Linked DNA regions of Homo sapiens: all the other regions are linked to region 1. The links are contacts of gene promoters, found by promoter capture Hi-C in blood cells and fetal thymus (Javierre and others, 2016). All regions are on one chromosome and are shown on one strand. Each heading gives the region's core, a stretch centred on a gene start or on the middle of the fragment in contact. The rest is flanking DNA. Distances are from core to core; before and after follow the strand shown.

What was found. Contacts are between HindIII fragments. The CHiCAGO score rates a contact against its expected background, and 5 or more counts as called.
Region 2: a fragment that was not itself captured here is called in contact with the fragment with the promoter of MORC1-AS1 in region 1 in 2 of 17 cell types (erythroblasts and megakaryocytes); the score reaches 5.1 in erythroblasts.
Region 3: the fragment with the promoter of RETNLB here is called in contact with the fragment with the promoter of MORC1-AS1 in region 1 in 4 of 17 cell types (neutrophils, naive CD8 T cells, M2 macrophages and 1 more); the score reaches 8.8 in neutrophils.

The regions. Positions count from the first base shown.
Region 1 is chr3:109,099,663-109,103,915 of GRCh38, reverse strand. MORC1-AS1 (MORC1 antisense RNA 1) reads right to left here and starts at 2,460. Exons shown (of 3, transcript NR_144461.1): 1 at 2,357-2,460. It overlaps MORC1 (MORC family CW-type zinc finger 1), which reads left to right. Exons shown (of 28, transcript NM_014429.4): 4 at 1-67; 5 at 3,409-3,499. The HindIII fragment of the contact is 2,885 bases long and covers 532-3,416 here.
Region 2 is chr3:108,665,264-108,669,516 of GRCh38, reverse strand. The region is part of intron 21 of DZIP3 (DAZ interacting zinc finger protein 3); the gene reads right to left. Among named protein-coding and RNA genes, the nearest start is that of DZIP3, 78 kb to the right of the region's middle. The HindIII fragment of the contact is 567 bases long and covers 1,556-2,122 here.
Region 3 is chr3:108,756,160-108,760,412 of GRCh38, reverse strand. It overlaps RETNLB (resistin like beta), which reads left to right and starts at 3,003. Exons shown (of 3, transcript NM_032579.3): 1 at 3,003-3,354; 2 at 3,825-3,905. The coding sequence starts at 3,228. The HindIII fragment of the contact is 7,429 bases long and covers 1-4,253 here.

The DNA of each region.
Region 1 (4,253 bases), core at 1,211-3,710:
GATAATGAAAAACTGCAGGGGGGATTCATGTTGTGTTTCCTGGATGATGGATGTGGCATGAGCCCTGGTAAGTTAATTATCTAGATACCTAACTGGCTGTTAAAGGAAACAGTCTGAAAACCTACAAAATAAATAAATTGAGCTATCTATGCAAAAACAGGTATGGAGCTATTAAAGAAAGTAAGCCCCAGACTTTTTGTTGAACTTTTTAGGTTTAAGTATCCCAGCTGGCAGAGTAAATTTATTGTAACCATCTAAACCAAGACAAAAAGTAAATGTATATTAATATTGTCAGAAAAATGAAAGGCAAATGTTACTGATTGTAAGAAATAAGCATCTGGGAATGAATGGAAAACAAATAGTCACTGAATAGACTCTGAGATTGTTTTTAGCTCATCCTTTAGGTATTGCTTGTGAGAGCCCCAGGCAGTTTCCTGTGCCTGTAGGCTATTTTTAATTTTGCTTAACCTCGAGGTAGAGGTTTCCTCTCCTTGTTTTTAGCCTTGTTTTTTCCTCTGCATTTTGAAAGCTTTACTTGCTTCAAATGAATGTTCCCATCATAAAGAATACATCTACAATATATTTCATGACTTATCTTTGTGTATTCAAGGTTAGCACAAAGCCAGCACATTATGGGTATACAGTGTCTGTGTGCTGTGAAATTGAAATGTGATTCCATCTGAGGGCATTGGGTTGTTTTAGGTATTGTATTTCTGAATTCTTTAAACATGGTGTGTTCCACAAGCCAGGGTTTTTGACCACTAGATTTAAAAAATGGTGAGAGTTCAGTAATATGGAACTGCCATGGTCAGTTCCACAACTGAGGAAAGGATGCATCAGTATGCTCAAATATTGATTTGCTGATAGAAGCTGAAGATATGAGGTATGGCAAATATCTTATTTCAGCTCTGAAGTTTCCCCTTGGTCTGAATAGTTGAAGAGTATTAGCAAGTTTAGAAAGACTGTTTCACCCAGTTTTGTTCTGACTTCGGATAATTTTGATTTTTCCAGGTCATTTTGATTAAAAGTATTCTTGGTCTTTTATTGTTTAAATGAGAAAGAAGAGTTTGTAACAACAACAGAAAAAACCCATGCTGAAAAAAGTAATTTTTCACTTCTAGCCTGAATATTAAGTTCATTTTTTTGAATTCCTAAAATAAATGACAGAATATATGTGATATATTCTAAGGGAATTCCTTATGAAAAGAAGCAACTCTTTTTATATGGGTCATGAACAAAATGTTTGAAACACAGACAAGTGACGGATATTCAGACCTTCAGAAGGAACTCACACTTCAGTTACATAGTAGCATCAACTAGTAATAAAGTAGAAGGAAGATGACTAAAAGTAGAATCTATCCGTTGTTCAAACGGAGCTAGATCAATCTTGACCCATAGAAAATGACTACAGTACTTTCCGGGTTTTTAAAAAATTCTCTAGTCTTGCCCCTTTATAGTCCATTCCCCACACAGCATCCTGAGTGATTTTCTTTCTTTTAATGTACATTTTCCTGCTGAAAATGTACATTAATATCATTTTCCTGCTGAAAACCCTCAGTGGTTTTCCATTACTTAATACAATTTGTACTCTCAGCATCTCTTCCAAGACCTTACATTATTTGGCCCTATGCACCTCTTTGGCCTTTTCTTGTTCTTCCCACTTCCTCCCTTAGAACACTCCACCCACACATGGCTGACCCCTCATCGTTTGAATCCATCTCATGTTAACCATCTGCCAGTGGCCTTCCCTGATCATTCTGTCTGCAGGCCACGTTCCTGTTAATTCTCTATCGCATTACCCTGGTTTTGTTTTCTTCACTTAATACTCAGTCAGAAATGATCTTATTTATTAGTTTACTTTCAATCTGTTTCTCCTACCATGACATAGTGTTGTCCAAGGCAGGAGCCATGCCTGGCCTGTTCAGTGGTTTATTCCCATGCTCAGAACCGGGTAACCATGCACGTGAGTTCATGTAGTGTGTAATGAACACATGGGATTTGGTTCAGAGCTATACCATGTCTGTACCAAGACTTAGAACTTTGGGTTATAATCCTAGCTGTACCCTCTATCAGCTCTGTGACCTTGGGCAGGTTTTTAAAACTCCTTAGACTTACATTTGCTCATCTGTGACATGCAGGTCATAGTAATAATACCTTTCTTGTTTTGTTATAAATATTAAATAAGCTGTGCATGTAAGTATAAACATAGTACCTAGCATATACTAAACAATCAATAAGTGTTAGCTAAGATTGTCATTATGGATATCCTTACCTAATGCCTAACCCCTCATAGGAACATATCATAGGAGGTCCAGTTAGTTTCAGAGAAGCAGAATGTTTGGTGGCTTTTACACACCTCATACCATGTGCCACTGAACTATAGCATATCTGTACCCAGACTGACAGAGGGTCCTCAGGACAATTCTTCAGCATGTATTCAGGTAGGCCAACAAGAAGAACATTCTTGGTTCTGGAGATTGGTATTAATATATTCTGAAGTCCAGAGGATTACTGTCTAGAATTCCAGAATACCTGGAGAGGTCGGGAGAATGATTTGGAACGTCTGAAATGGTTAGCCTTCTTTCCCAGGTAGTATCAGAGCAGAGGTCATCCTGCCCCTCTTAGTCTCACATGGGCCTGGTTAAGGGCTAAATTCGTGGGGAAATTACTAGTGGTACAAGTAATTATAACACTTGTAATTTGGTAACACCCACCAAGTGCCAAGTTTTGTGTTCAGGATTTCACAAATACATCATCTCATTTCATTTGTTTCATTTATCTTCATCAGCAACACCGTGATATAAGTATTACGTAGTTGCCTCTTACACCACATGGAAATTAAGGCTCAGACTTTTAAACTCTACCTAAGGCCACATGGTTAGGTCTGTCTCATCTCTTTCAGTATACAGTTGTTTCTTAGTATCTGTAGGGAATGGATTCCAGGACCTTTCTAGGATACCAAAAGCTGTGGAAAGAAGATGGCACGGTATTTCCGTATAACCTATATATATCCTCCTGTATACTTTAAATCTTTTCCAGGTTCCTTATAATACCCAATGCAGTGTAAATGCTATTAAATAGTTGTTATACTTTGTTGTTTAGAGAATAATGACAAAAAAAAAGTCTGTACGTGGTCAGTCCAGACGCAATTTATTTTTTTCTGAATATTTTCAGTCCAAGATTAGTTGAGTCTATGAATGTGGAGCCTGCCGTACCTTGGGCTGACTGTAATACCATTAAGACCCTTGTCAGAGACTGTGGATTCTGATGAAAATCCTTGTCTCTGGGCTGACCCAAGAGCTATGGGTTTGTCCTGATGTTCTGAGGAATGTGAGGTCCTGACAGCTGGGCCTCAGGCCAGTGTCAAAGAGTCTTCCTAACCACCTTAAAAGTCACTGTCAATTACAGAGGAAGCTTCAGACATCATTTACTTTGGACGATCCAAAAAACGGCTGTCAACCTTGAAGTTCATAGGGCAATACGGCAATGGTCTTAAAAGGTGAGAATTTTTTTTCCCTTAAGACATATATTATTGATACTGGGAACACTGTTTATAAAGCAATTTACACAGAATGATGCAGGCATGTAAAGCTTTAAAAAATATATAAACTTGAGGCAGGGGTGACCTACTTTGTGTTGGAATCTCCATATACAAAACTGACTTTTTTTTTTTGAGACAGATTCTCACTCTGTCACCCTGGCTGGAGTGCAGTGGTGCGATCTTGGCTCACTGCAACCTCCGCCTCCTGGGTTCAAGTGATTCTCCTGCCTCAGCCTCCTGGGCAGCTGGGATTACAGGCATGAGCCACCATGCTCAGCTAATTTTTGTATTTTTGTAGAGACAGAGTTTCACCATGTTGGCCAGGCTAGTCTCGAACTCCTGACCTCAAGTAATCAGCCCGCCTCGGCCTCCCAAAGTACTGGAATTACAGGCATGAGCCACCACGCCCGGCCCATAACTGACTTTTATCTTTACAACATTTTAGGTTAATTCTCCCAAATAATAAAATAAATCCTCTTTCAAAGATTCCTGAAGCGGTACCCCTGTACTTTAGTGCTTTGTTGCATCTCTATGTTCTGTTGTTTCCCAAAGCATATTTTAACCTAGGTGCTGTGTCTGCAGCTCTTTGTTTTAGTATGCTGCATTGAAAGGTCAGGACATGAGGCTCACTTGTACGGCTCCTACCTGAGACAGATGATTGTTCTTTTGAGCCCTGAATGGACCCTTTCCCCTGCAGCCAAACCTCAAGCAA
Region 2 (4,253 bases), core at 590-3,089, 430 kb after region 1:
TGTATCTTGTTTCTGATGTCTGATTTACTGACTTCCCAAAGAAAGGGGAACTAAGTTCTAATTCAGTAAATTAGAAAGCAAAAGAGAAGTGTTATCTTGCATCTCAGTGCAATGACTTGGAAAAATGTCTCTAGCTCTTCATGCTTCAGCTTACCTACTAGAAAACAGAGATGGTATCTTCTGATTTTCTAAGCCTGTTGTGAGATTGAGAACTTTAAGTTCCTTAAAGTGGTATTATATCAAGTCATGCAAATTATGAAAGATTTAAGGTCTAAAGGAAATCAAACCTTAAATATTGAAGTGATGAGGCTGTGTACAAATGCAAATTTTAATTAAAACTATGAATTATCACCTGGGGGTCACTCACATGATCTTATCATGGAAAGAATGGGTAAAAATTTTGTATAAATCAGAATCTATAGCCTGTGATCAGCTTCAAAATTAATATGTAAGAAACTAAGAGAAACGCATATACTTTTTGGTTGACATATATTCACATACCAGATTTCTGATGTTCCTCCCTTATGCTGCTGTATTTCTTTTCACAAGCAAGCTTTTACATAAACCTAGTAATTAACTTCAATATGAAAAGATTTATAATAAAAGCACATTTCTCTTTAAGTCTCTAATATGTTGAAATTCTTGGGATAAATGGAAGAGTTTTGGTTGGAATAATACATCTTTGAAATGACGACTTTAATGTTGGATGGATTGCTCACTACCAGATTTCAGAGACTACCCATTCACCTTTATTCTAAGCTTCTTAGAAGACTTAGAGACTTATAGTTAATGTTTTGTTGGTCTGAGAATGCAGTGAAAAGAAACCAGGTCTCTTTCTGTACAAAAGAGGTCATGTTCTCAAGTGAAATATTAAGAAATACAAGCTTCATTACTGTAATATATAGGAATATGTTGACAGAGTTGAAAAGCAGTAAAATTTGTAAGACTGCCATCTTGTTTTCCTTTGTATACTTCCATTACTTCAATATTTTACCCAGCTCTAGTTTAGAGTGGGCAATAAGAGTAGACATAACTAGTGGGGAATTCAGAACACCTAGACTCTTAAACAACAGAGGATAAGGTAGGCATAGTTCTTATTATCCAGCTCAGATAAGAGTCAGCTACGTATGTTCAGGCAGTCTTAACTTCTCAGTCTTTTTCTCATGTTTAATATAACAGAATGAAATTACTAGATTTTCTTTCTAAAAAATCTAAAGTTCTCAAGTTAACTCTAGCTGACTATCAAGTTTTATTATAGACTGTTGACAGCAGTTTCTTGACATATTACTAACTGCTTATTGTAGTTTATCCAAAGTTAAGTCACTTCCATAAAATCTTCTTTGTTAACACTTCAACTGTCATCAACAAATATTTGCCAAACATTTACTGCACATACCAAATTGAATTAGGCCAAAAAACCACACCATTTTTGCTTTCTAATCTCCATATTCTAAGATGAAAGAAGCCAACATTTACAATTAAAGAATATTTATATTTTATCACATACTCTTGGGCAATGTTCAGATGAATTAAACGAAGAAAACGTTCAAAAGCTTATATGAGAACACAGAGTAGTCATTATGTCCATTCTGCCTTGATGCCCTGTCTTTTCTTCCATCTCATCCCACCTAACCTTCAATGCCTAGGTTCAGTACTATGTCTTTAACAAAGTTCTTCATTGAAGGAAGTTCCTTATCACAACAATCAAAAAAATATTCTCTCTACCCTACAAAATTTCCACTAAGTATACTCTTGTTTGACAGTTTTTCATTATGTACTTTTTAAAATAGTTAAACTTTTTATTTCAAGATAATTGTAAATTCATATGCGTGTATAAGAAATAATACACAAAGAACCCATGTATCCTTTCCCCAATTTCTCCCCATGGTAACATCTTGCAAAACTACTGTATAATACCATAACCAGAATATTGATGGTAATACAGTCAAGATACTGAACTGTTCTATCACCACAGGGATCCTTCATTTTGCCCTTTTAAAGCCACAACCACTTCCCTTCCACTCTCATCCCCTTCTTATAACCTTGGAACCACTAATCTGTTTTCCATTTTTATAATTTTGTCATTTCAAGAATGTTCAGCAAATGGAAACATATATAAGCTTTTGGAACTGGCTTTTTTCAATCAGCATAATCTTCTGATGTCTGCAGTGTTTGTAGTATTTGCAGTGATACATATCACTGTTTCATTCCGGATGGTAGTAATTTATGTCTTTTATATTGTCAGTCTTGCTAGAGGTTTGTCAATTTTATTGACCTTTTCAAAGACACAGCTTTTTGTTTCATGGATTTTCTCTACTATTTTTCTTTTTCCAACTCATTCTTTCTCAGTTTCTTTTTTTTTTGAAATGGAGCCTTGCTATGTTGCCCATGCTGAACTGTAACTCCTGGGTTCAAGCAATCCTCCCATCTCAGCCTCTCAAGTAGCTGGGACTACAGGTGTGCACCACTGCATCCTGCTCCCATTATTTCTAATCTTTATAACTTATTTCCTCCTGCTTGCTTTGAGTCTATTTTGATTTTCTTTTTCTGGGATCTTGAAGTGAGAGCTTGGATTATCCACTGAAGACTTTTCTCTTTTTCTAATGTGTGTATTTAGTGTTATAATCTCAGCACTGCCTCAGCTATGTGGCACAAATTTTGACATATTGTATTTTCATGTAAATTCAATGTATTTTCTCTTGAGAGCTCTTCTTTGACCCATGGATTATTTAGACATGGGTTGCATAGTTTCCAGGCCTTTGGAGGTTTCTTGGTATCTCTCCGTTACTGATGTTTAATTTGACTCCATTGTGACCTGAGAACATGCTTTGTATGATTTCAACTCTTAAATTTGTTGTTGAGGTTTGTTTTATGGCCCAGGTTATTGTCTATCTTGGTAGATACATCCTGTGGTCACTTGAAAGCATGTGTATTCTACTGTTGTCGGGTGGGGTGTTCTATAAATATCAGTTAGGTCCTGCTGGTTGATGGTGGTTATTGAGGTCTTCTATATCCTTGCTGATTTTCTGTTTAGTAGTACTATAAATTGAGAGTGGAGTTTGAAGTGTTCAATTATAATGGTAAACTTTTCCATTTCTCCTTTCAGCTCTATCAGGTTTTACTTCATGTGTTTTGAGGCTGTTTTTGGTACATATACCTTGAGGTTCTTGTGGATTGATCCTTTCATCATTATGTAATGTCCCTCTTTGTGTCCAACAGTCTTCTTTCTTCTGAAGTCCATTTAATCTGATTTTAATATAGCCATTCTTACTTTTTTTTAATAAACATCTGCATGATATATCCCTAGCTTTATTCTCATTTAGGTGCCTTTACCCTCCTCACTTTTCAAATATACTGGTGTTTCTTCTACATACATTGAATTCCACGAGATAGTGTTAAAATTTTTGCTTCAACCATCAAATATGATTTAAGAAATTAATTAGGACAACTTCTTATTATTTATCTTACTCTTTACTCATTCTGATGGTCTTCTTTCCTTTCTGAAGTCTCAAGCTTCTACTATATATATATTTTTAAAGTTTAGAGACCTTCCTATAGCCATACTTTAACGGTAAGATATATGAATTTGCTAGCAATAAATTCTTATAATTTTCCATTGTCTGAGACTGTCTTTATTTCCTTCTATTCCTACAGAATATTTTTTGCTAAATACAGGATTCATGGTTCTGCTCTTTTCTTTCGGTAATTGAATAAACTGCCACTTCATTCTGGCCTTCATGGTTTCAAACGAAAAATCTGTTGTCATTCAAATTACTGTTCTCATAAGTAATGTTTTTCTCTGCCTGTTTTCAAGCCTTTTCTTTGTCTTTTGTTTTCAGAAGTTAAGTTATGATGTGTCTTAGCATGGATTTGAGTTTTTGCTATTCGGGGTTCACTTAGTTTCTGAATTTGTAAATTTATACATTTCATCAAATTTGGGGAAATTTCAGTATTTCTTTGAATACTTTTTCAGTCTCTCTCTCATTCTGCTCTCTTTTTGAAATTCCAGTGACAAGTACTTTAGCTCTTTTGTTATTGGCTCAAAGGTCCTTTAGACTCTTTTTAATTTTTTTCTCCCAGTCTATTTTCTCTTTGTTCTTCAGATTGAGTTCATTCTATTCATCTGTCCCCAAGTTCACTGATTCAATCCTCTGTCATCTCCACTTTACTAGTGATTATATCCAGCAAGTTTTAATTTCAATCACTGTATTTTCTAGTATATAATTTTCATTCTTTATTATAACTTATTTCCT
Region 3 (4,253 bases), core at 1,754-4,253, 340 kb after region 1:
GATGGGGGGATCACTTGAGCTCAGGCATTCAAGACTAGCTTAGGCAACATAATAAGGCCTTGTCTCTACAAAAAAAAATTTTTTTTTAAATAGCCGGGTGTGATGGCACACTATTATAGTCCCAGCTACTTGGAAGGCTTAGGCACAAGGATCACTTGAGCCCAGGAGTTTGAGGCTGCAGTGCCATGATCACACCACTGCACTCCAGCTTGGGCAACAGAACTAGACCCTATCTCCAAAAAAAAAAGAAAAATTAAACATTAGAAAACCATAAATCATTTTATGTCACTCCCCTGAACAAAACACTACAATAATTTGCTGTCAAATTTATAATAAAATCCAAAGCCCTTACATTGGCTTACAAGCTCTATATAATCTGGCCCTGGTCAGCTCTCTGACTTCTTCTCTGGCCTTCCCCCTATACTTCATTCTGGCCATATTGCCATTGTTGTCATTCTTTCAACACACTAACCAACTCTCTGCCGTGGGCTCTTTATACTTGTTCCACAGGCTAGAACATTTGTCCCAGATTTTCCTGTGACTCACCCCCTCACTTCTTCAGGTCATTGTTACCTTTTCTGAGACACCTTTCCTGAACATACTGCATTATGGGCAATAGCACAGTGGCACACTCTATTGCCTTGTCTTGACTTATTTTTCTTTACAGCATTTCTCAATACTTGACCATATATACATACATATGTATGTATACACATACATACATATGTATGTATACACATACATACATATGTATGTATACACATACATACATATGTATGTATACACATACATACATATGTATGTATACACATACATACATATGTATGTATACACATACATACATATGTATGTATACACATACATACATATGTATGTATACACATACATACATATGTATGTATACACATACATACATATATATATGTATATATATACATACATATATATATATACACATACATACATATATATAAATACAGTATATGTATATACACTGTATTTATCTCCCCCATTACAAAAGGGCAAAGAGCTTGTCTACGTTGTCCACCACTGAGTCAGCAGAGCTAGAGCTGGTAAAGAGAAGCTCTACAAATTTTCATTGAATTAGCAAACAATTAATCAACCCATCATGTATCCCAAATCCAAGTGTATGCTCTTTCTTATTCTCCAGTCTCATTTTTCTTCTCTTCAACTCCTGTCTGGTAATTGAGGAAGCATCCTTGCCTTTTTGCTGGCATCTCCAGGCCTCATTTCTCAAAGTTGCCTGAGAGAGATATGTATAAGTAATAGCTGTTCATTAGAGGGCATCTCCAGGAAAGTGGGCAGAAAGGCTGGTCACAGAGGTAGAGCCCAGCCTTTCCAGCTCTGACTGCCTCAAGGAATAGTCACCTAACTGCCTTTTTCTGCTTCTCATTTTATTTTATTTTATTTTATTTATTTTTGAGGCAAGGTCTTGCTTTGTCATCCAGGCTGGAGTGCAGTGAAACAATCTCAGCTCACTGCAACCTTGAGGCTCAAGTGATCCTCCTGCCTCAGTCTCCTAAGTAGCCGGGACCACAAATGCATGGTACCACTCCCAGTAAATTTTTTTTTTTTGATAGAGTCTCACTATGTTGCCCAGGCTGGTCTTGAACTCTTGTGCTCAAGAGACCCTCCTGCCTCAGCCTATCAAAGTATTGGAATTATGGGCATGAGCCACAACACATGGCCCCTTTCTCTGCTTCTTCATCTGCACTTCTTTAAATTTTATTTATTCATGGTGGCCACATGCCCCATCCTAGATGAGGAATCATGGCATCCTCATTCCTCTTGGCCATATGTGAATCCTCAAAGTCCTCAATCCCTTATCCATTATTCTAAAATCTAAAAGGCTCTAAAGATGAAAATGTTCTGTCCTAAATTTGAGGCTAACTCATTTGGCAGAAAAACTTGGCATGGCCTGGTGTGAGGCTCTTTATGGTCTTTTATTTATCCCACATTAATATTCATACATTTTGCATCAGGCTATTTATGCATTAGACTGCAGAGTGCTGCCCCCAACCTCCTTGGTGGTTTAACATAATATACAGAATTTGCACCTTCCATAATCTGAAACATTCTGAGTTCTGAAACATACCTGGGCCCCAGGTCTTGGATAAGGAATTGTGAAGCCCAGCTCTCTTTTTCAGCCATAGCTGATAGAAAGGGAGGTTGTGTGACCCAGAACCAAACAGTGGAATGTAAGGGGAAATCTTCTTGAGCTTCTAGAGAAAGATCTTGCTCTTAAAATAAAAAGGTAAAGCCCCTACAGAAAGTGGCCTTGCCCCACTCCTTCCTTCCTGCTCAGGGTCTGGGCTGAGGATGTGGCACCTTCTACCTTGTGACCATGAGGAGACAAGATCGAAAGATTAGCTGAGAATGGTGGGGGAAAAAGGGAAACTTTATGAGCCCCCAAAAGAACTCTGGAATCATAAACCATGCTTCTAGTTAAGTAAATACTGAACTTCCTTATTTTTAATCCAGGATTAATTAGTCTTTCTGTGACTTTCCTCCAAATGAGATTGGCCAGGGACAATAAAATGGTGTCTGAACAGGTGACAAGTAGGGCCCTCCCTCAGCCAACAGAGATAAGAAAGAGCATACACTTGGGTTTGGGATAGATGATGGGTGGATTAATTTGTTTGTTAACTGCAAAGTAACCTCTTCCTGATGAAGGATCAAACAAGAAGCCTATAATACCGGCAGACCACAGAAGGCCCAGGTGCTAGCCTTATCGGGTTGCCAAGAAGAAAGGAGAAGGAGAACAAAAAGGCAGGAGGACTCCCTTGGCAGAGATCCAGAGCAAAGGCAGCTGTTGCTTCTCATGAACACTCCAAAGTTTATCACAGTCACCTGTTACCCTAGCTGGCACAGGTCTTTGAAAGTGTGCTGGGAGTGTGTTTACATGTTTGTGTGTGCTTGTATGTTAAAGGTGCCCAGGTTAATACCAGGTGTATTAAAACGCCCTTGCCTGGCTAGTCCTTGTAGACCTTCTCTGAATGTTTTGGTGAATAAATCTGTTCTTCAGCAACCCTACCTGCTTCTCCAAACTGCCTAAAGAGATCCAGTACTGATGACGCTGTTCTTCCATCTTTACTCCCTGGAAACTAACCACGTTGTCTTCTTTCCTTCACCACCACCCAGGAGCTCAGAGATCTAAGCTGCTTTCCATCTTTTCTCCCAGCCCCAGGACACTGACTCTGTACAGGATGGGGCCGTCCTCTTGCCTCCTTCTCATCCTAATCCCCCTTCTCCAGCTGATCAACCCGGGGAGTACTCAGTGTTCCTTAGACTCCGTTATGGATAAGAAGATCAAGGATGTTCTCAACAGTCTAGGTAACTGACTGGGGTAGGGGAAGCGGGGGGTTGACCCTTGCTCATTTCTCCTGTTCTTAAACTCTAGCTTTGTCTCTATCCCATCCCAAGATCCCAACCAAGCCCAACCCCTGATGAGGGCTTTCTACACTACCCTACCCGTGTTTGAAGTCTTGGCTAAAAGCTGAGGTTTTCCTGATGAGGAGGAAGAGGTGGAGGAGAATGGTAGCTGTAATTTATGAACACTCATTATGAACCAGGTATAATCCAAGTTTTACGTAGATTATTTCATTTAATTCCCACAACCATTTTATGAGGTAAGGACAACTATTACTTCTGCTTTAAAAATGAGGAAACTAACCTTAAAAGCTGATGAGTAGGCTGATTCTGGACACAGTGTCACCTCCAAGGTAGAAGACAATTTGGAAGGGGATAAGGGGATTATGGGGAGGATAGCTCATGGGATGTACCCTTTCTTCTTTCCTACTCAGAGTACAGTCCCTCTCCTATAAGCAAGAAGCTCTCGTGTGCTAGTGTCAAAAGCCAAGGCAGACCGTCCTCCTGCCCTGCTGGTGAGTAACTCCCTGAGAGGGAATGGCGACTACGATGCCCTGTATCCTCCCCTGTCCATCTCCCTGCACCTACGTCTTCCCCCATGTCAGGTCTGTATCACCCTGGCACCCTGGGGCTGAGTCATGACTCTTGGTTCCCAGAGACCCCTTGCCCATTCTTGTTTCCCTGAAGGATGCTACTGGGGGATCTTGGGCTTCTGCCTCTTCCTTTCACCCCTTCACTTCATGCCCCTGTTTCTCAGCCCTTCCTCTCCTCCATTGTCCCATAATGATCACATACTTCATTTCTCTTTCCAATCTATTCCTCTGTTTTGATGGGTAGGGGCCAACAGAGAGGTGAATTTATCA